Regions from separate parts of the Homo sapiens genome. Here region 1 is linked to region 2. Evidence: promoter capture Hi-C in human tissues and cell types (Jung and others, 2019). All regions are on one chromosome and are shown on one strand. Each heading gives the region's core, a stretch centred on a gene start or on the middle of the fragment in contact. The rest is flanking DNA. Distances are from core to core; before and after follow the strand shown. Region 1 holds the start of PCED1B (PC-esterase domain containing 1B). Region 2 holds the start of SLC38A1 (solute carrier family 38 member 1).

Evidence for each region. The method cuts DNA at HindIII sites, captures the fragments that hold promoters and counts their contacts. A contact is called where the count stands out against the background at its distance.
Region 1: the fragment with the promoter of PCED1B here is called in contact with the fragment with the promoter of SLC38A1 in region 2 in 1 of the 25 tissues and cell types used here (mesendoderm cells).

The regions. Positions count from the first base shown.
Region 1 is chr12:47,078,289-47,080,988 of GRCh38, forward strand. PCED1B (PC-esterase domain containing 1B) reads left to right here and starts at 1,333. Exons shown (of 4, transcript NM_138371.3): 1 at 1,333-1,437. It overlaps AMIGO2 (adhesion molecule with Ig like domain 2), which reads right to left and starts at 1,671. Exons shown (of 3, transcript NM_001370299.1): 1 at 1,174-1,671; 2 at 854-960; 3 at 1-777. The coding sequence starts at 714. The HindIII fragment of the contact is 14,777 bases long and covers 1-2,700 here.
Region 2 is chr12:46,267,593-46,270,292 of GRCh38, forward strand. SLC38A1 (solute carrier family 38 member 1) reads right to left here and starts at 1,451. Exons shown (of 17, transcript NM_030674.4): 1 at 934-1,451. It overlaps LOC105378248 (a long non-coding RNA gene), which reads left to right and starts at 1,479. Exons shown (of 2, transcript XR_001749101.1): 1 at 1,479-1,566. RefSeq lists enhancers at 851-910, 909-1,891, 1,031-1,080, 1,131-1,230 and silencers at 1,641-1,820, 1,901-2,000. The HindIII fragment of the contact is 6,474 bases long and covers 1-2,700 here.

The DNA.
Region 1 (2,700 bases), core at 83-2,582, 810 kb after region 2:
GGAGTACAGGGAACAGTCACAGACAAATGGGTTTCCATGAAGGTAGATGCCTCTCAGCTGTTTTCCTGGCACTAAATTTATGTGGTGCATTGGCATGGAAGGAATTCGGTTATAAGAAACATCTAAAAACATCAGTTCTGCCAGCTTGAACCTTCCAACATACAAATCCATCGGAAACTGTGTGAGAAAATTTCCACTTAAGTAGAGTTTCTGCAACTGGGAGAGCCCTCCAAACGCTGAAGGATCGAGATAGGATATGTGATTGTTGTAAAGCAGAAGCACTTCCAGAACCTTCAACTCTTGGAATACAGCATTTTTCACCGTCTTCAGCTTATTGGACGATAAGTCAAGACACTTCAAATTTGGAGTTGTGGAAAAACTGCCCGTGGAAATGCTGGTGATGTTGTTATGACGAAGAATTAGGGTGTTCAGCTTTGCAAACGATACTGGAATCCACTCAGAATCCAGAAGCCCAATTCTGTTATAACTCAGGTCCAGTCTCTTAATCAGTCTGAAAAGGTTCCCAGGCACCTTGGACAGGTTTTTGTTGGTGCAGCTGACGATGTCAGTGGCACAGATGCAAGCGGTGGGGCACACCCCAGAGGCACCAGGGCCCACAGTCACTGTGATCATCAGCAAACACAGCAGCTCCCTGCAGCCCGGTCTGACGACGGCTCCAAGCAGGGTGGGCAGAGTGTGTACACGTAACGACATTATGGTCGCCTCTGAGTCTCTTCCCGGTGTCTTTTCCACCGGCTCAGCCTCCCACCAGTGAACCTGGCAAACAATTAATAATTCAGAGGGAGTAAAAAGCAGAAACTGACTACCACTAGTTAACCCATAAGAGCCATACCTTACTTTCTTTCCAATAACTTTTGAAATGGGTTTTATTTCACAATAGGGAGCTCTGTGTTGCCTCTTCACTGTTAAATGTATTTTTTCCTCTTTCCTGGGTTAGTCCTGCTTATAAAAATGTACAGTCACATTCTCTCCATACAACCCACCGTCTCACCCACCATCAGAAACTCAATTTTTTCCTAAGGTGCATCCTGCGTTGTTGTTGTTGTTGTTGTTGTTTTAAACTCCCTCCAACAGACACAACTATACGCAAACGTACGCTACAAACAATTAAACGGAAATACTTAGCAACCACCCATCCAGGAAAAAACTCACGGTGCTGGGGAGCCTCGTGGGCTCCGGGGAGGCTGCCTACGCAGTGCCTTCCGAAGGTCTGCGCGTCCGTCTGTCCGTGTCTGTCACTCTTGCACCTTCCGACTTCCTTTCCCTCCGGCTCCCGGCGGGCGGCACCCTCTAGCCGGCTCTCAACTTTGAGGAGTTTCAAGCAGCCGCGGCGGCAGCAGCAGCCCTGGACGCAGCAGCCAAGCTCTTCGCTGGCTCCCGGGGGCTCTCCCGGGTTCCTCTCATTGCAGGCTGAAGGTACCGCCTCGGCGCTCTGGCCGCCGTGTGCCCGCGCGCGGGGCGCCCCGCTCCCAGAGCCGGGGCCGCGGGAGGGGGCGCAGGCAGCCGGGCGGCAGCGGGCGGCCCCGCCTCTCCGCACTCGGGAGGCTGCAGGACCCGGGGTTCCCGCGCGCCCGGGGCCGGGAGACGGGCTGGGGCGCCGGTCCCACCCCTGCGCGTCCTGCCTCCTGCGGGCAGCAGCTCGGAGCCTGCGGGAGGGAGCAGGCTGGGCGCGTGGTGGGGGGCGCGCGATGCGGAGGGGGCGGCGGCGCAGCCAATCCGAGAGGCGGCCGGCGCCCCCTCATACCGCCCCGCGGCCTCGCCGCCTCCTCCCGCTTTCCTCCTCCAGCTCCCACCCGGACCTCTAGAACGGCCGCGCAGAGCGGGGAGGGGGCAGGGGTCCACACCAGAGGCCCAGACTCTGGTCCTTGAGTCAAGATGCCCAACCCACTCGCCTACCAATTACGTCCCTTCGTCCAGCTCCAAGCCGGGCGGTAATGGGGTCCAGGAAGGCTAAAGGGGACACGCCCAGCCACCGAGGGAGGGGTCTCACCCTTGGAGACCCACTTCGCGGCGGCCGCACAGGTCACGTCTCTCTCCCCACCCAGGCCAAGGAATCCCCGGACCTCTTAGAGCTTTGCTTTGGGGCAAGGGCCAAGGAGGCTTTGCCTGCGCCAAGTGCAGTTGACTGTCTGGGTTTACAAAATAAACCCAGAAGCAGCCTGACGTCTCCGCTCGTTTCTAGGGAGGAGGTCGCGGGGAGGGAAGTCGGGAACGTTTCCTCTCCACAGGGATATCTGCTGGGAGGAAGTAACCGGGAAATCGCCACGGGGACACCCCTCACCTCCCTGGGAAAGTTCTATCCCTTTCCTGACTCAGGAGGCGGCAACAGGGATGGTGTCCAATTCAAGAAGGAGGAGGGCAGGAAAGAAGGCTTGGAGCCGACCTTCCGGCTGGAATGCAAAGATAAGAGTATTAACCCAAATAATAATAATAATCCCAGAGCAGACCTTTTTTTCTTTTTTCTCTCTTCTCCTTCCCCTCTTCTCTCTCCCTCTCTCTCTCCCTCTCTCTCCTTTCTCTTTCGTTCTCTCTCTCTCATTTCCTCTGTCTCTGTCCCCGCCACCTCCCCGTCTTTTGCAAGCGTGCTCGTGGCGCGTGCGGGACAGGGAAGTAAGGGGCGTGTGCGCGGAGGCTCTTCATCCCTTCCGGAGATGCCGCGGCCGACCAGCGCGCTTTGGT
Region 2 (2,700 bases), core at 201-2,700:
CCCCATGCGCCAGGAGGTGGATAATTTAGGGGGCAAGGGGCTCGCACAAGGGCGAAGATGCGCTCTCCTCCCGGCACCGACCCACGCGTTTAAAGGCCTCTGCGGCAACGTTTAGGGACGCGAACTAGGTGCCGGGGGTTGGGGAGGAGGTGGGACTGGAAGCGAGAGCAGTCTGCGCCCAAGACCGCGCAAGAGGTGGCCTTTTGTTCGCTGGCTCCAGCACATCCCGGCTCTCGAAAAAACACTACCTCTGTCCCCTGCCACCCTCTGCATTTTAGAAAATCCTCTTCAGGGCAGGAAAGGACAGTGAGTCACTGCAAGCATCCTTTAGTAATTTCTCCCCGCGCCCTCCTACTTCCCCGCGTTACAGAGGGGCAGAGCACCAGGAAGGACGGCAAACATGCCCCGGTTTAGTGGTGGTCCGCGGCCGCTACCCAGCCGGCCGCACGCAGCACCCCCCGGACATCACACGATCTCCTCTGGGCCTTGCGGACACAGGAAATTTTCACCAAAGGCCGGGGATTCAAACACTCCCAGAACACGGTCGCGCCCTCGGGTCAGCTGCGCTCTCCCTCCAGACGTGCGTGGTTCCTGGCTCTCGTAAAAATGGAACCAGATCTGGTACCACACTCTGCCACAGCCACAGGAAAACACACCAAAGTCACAGGAAAACAAACCAAAAAGTAAGCCACAGCCCACGCAAAGGTGAACTCGGGGGCCCTGGCGCTTCCTCCCGCTGCCGCGTGCGTTCGGGAAGCACAGGAGACCTGGACTTTTCCTCTCCTAAAAGCAACATCCGAAAGCATCGGGCACAGCCGAGCTCTCTCTGCTTTCACGCCCGCAGAGATGATTTCTACGTTACCTCCTCCTCCGACATCTAAATCTCCCCTTGCCGCTCGCCCAGCCCTCCCCGGGAACGGATAATCACCTTACCTCCGGAAATAAAGGGAAAGGTGGCAAAAGGCGATGTGGAGGTGTCCGCCCTTCCGGGGTTTTTACCCTCGGCAGTTTGATGTCCTTTGTGTCAAGGTCTGGCTGCGGAGGCCGGGAAAATGTGGCCCCCGTCAGTAAGGGTTGGGCAGGGAGCTTGGCGTGGCCTGGCGGATTTCGGAGGAAGGTGAAGGGCGGAGGCTCCTGGCGACCTTCTGGCGGAGTGGCGTGGCCGCCCCAGTCCGCGCTCGCCTGGCTCTCCTCCTTTCCGGGCCGATTGCATCAGAATCTCCCCTCACCACCAACCCCCACTCACACTCTGCTCGCCGGCCTCGCACTTACATCGACATGCACCGGCGCTGAGGGTCACGAATCGGAGTCATTCTCCTACTGGGGGACGCGTGGCCCTTCCGCAACCATGGCTTGTGATGGTTTAACGCGGACAGGCCATTCCTCCCCGTCCCGCGCGCGGTCTCCTCCCCTCCTGTGCGCCCGCTCTTTAACCAAAGCTGCGTGTCAGTGAGCCGTGCCGGTCACATGGTGTCACTGCTGGCGGCCGCACCTTGCTGCCTCCCTCTTGCAGCTCTCTGACGATGCAGCGACCGCGGCTGGCGGAGATTGAGCAACGGGGAAAGGGTGAGGGAGGGGTTGCGGGGCGCGCGTGTGCCCGGCGCACTGAAGCTGGCACCGGGAGCAGAGGCTGCGCGCCGCCCTGGCACCTGCCCCTCTCCCTCCCGGGGCCCGGCGGCGTGTTCGGAACCCAGCTGCGGCTGCAGCTGGAGAATGAGAGCCCTTAGGGATGGGGGTGGGGCGGCTAAAGGGGCACCGGCGGAGGACAGGAGGGCTGTGCGTTCCGCTGGGGCCTGCATTTTGGGTACGCCAGAGCCCCGCCGGGGCCGAAGGAGCGAGGGAGTTGCATTGTGGGAAGGGCGCAGCATGAGGATGGCCGCGGGAGTGGCAGGTCCGAGCGCAGCCCGGAGAGCCGCGGGCAGCGCCTGGGACTACGGGCAGCGTTGGAGCGGAGGGCTGGCCCTGGGCACAGCCTGCAGATGGCCCGGGTTGGCGGGAAGGGGACCGAAGTGGCAGGGGCGGCGGGGAGCTCGGGCACCTTTAAAAACCCTTTGTCCCTAACCTGAAGCGGGAGGCACCTCCCCTCTTCCGGATCCAGCACCCGCAGACCTGGTCAGCCCTTCCTGAGATCTGCCCTGTGGAGCTCTGCTTTGGGGACTGGGTGTGAGGTGAACCAGAAGGATTTGCTGAGCACCGAGAAAGCACCGGCCTAGGCGCAAAGAGCCGGGGGCCAGCTCTTGGAGGGCCTGGAGACCCCACGTGGTCCCGACCGAAGGACCTGGTGCGTCCAGGTTAACGGAGCTGGGGCGCTCCAAGTCCGGGGGACGAGGGAGCGGCATGGAGGGGAGCAGGGGCAACTGGGCCTGGTTCCCTTTTTTCCCGCTTACTCTTTGTTTCAGACACAGCCCCCTTTCACTGGCTGGGCACTTGCTTGCAGAGGAGTTGTGTCTTAAAATGGCGACAGGAAATCCCACCTGCGCCTCAGCCAATTAGACTGTCATAGCGCGAATTTGCAGGGTGGAAACGCGAGCTTTTTATTGATAGGGAAGGTTCAGTCTCCTGTTCATGGTTCATCAAAACAGGAAAGGGAAGGTGAATCATAATTCAAAAATTAACTACCTGGAGCGTTTCAAGTAGACAGTAGTCATTGTATTTGGGTGAATTTTGCTTTTTCATCACCACTGGAAAAGCAAGATGATA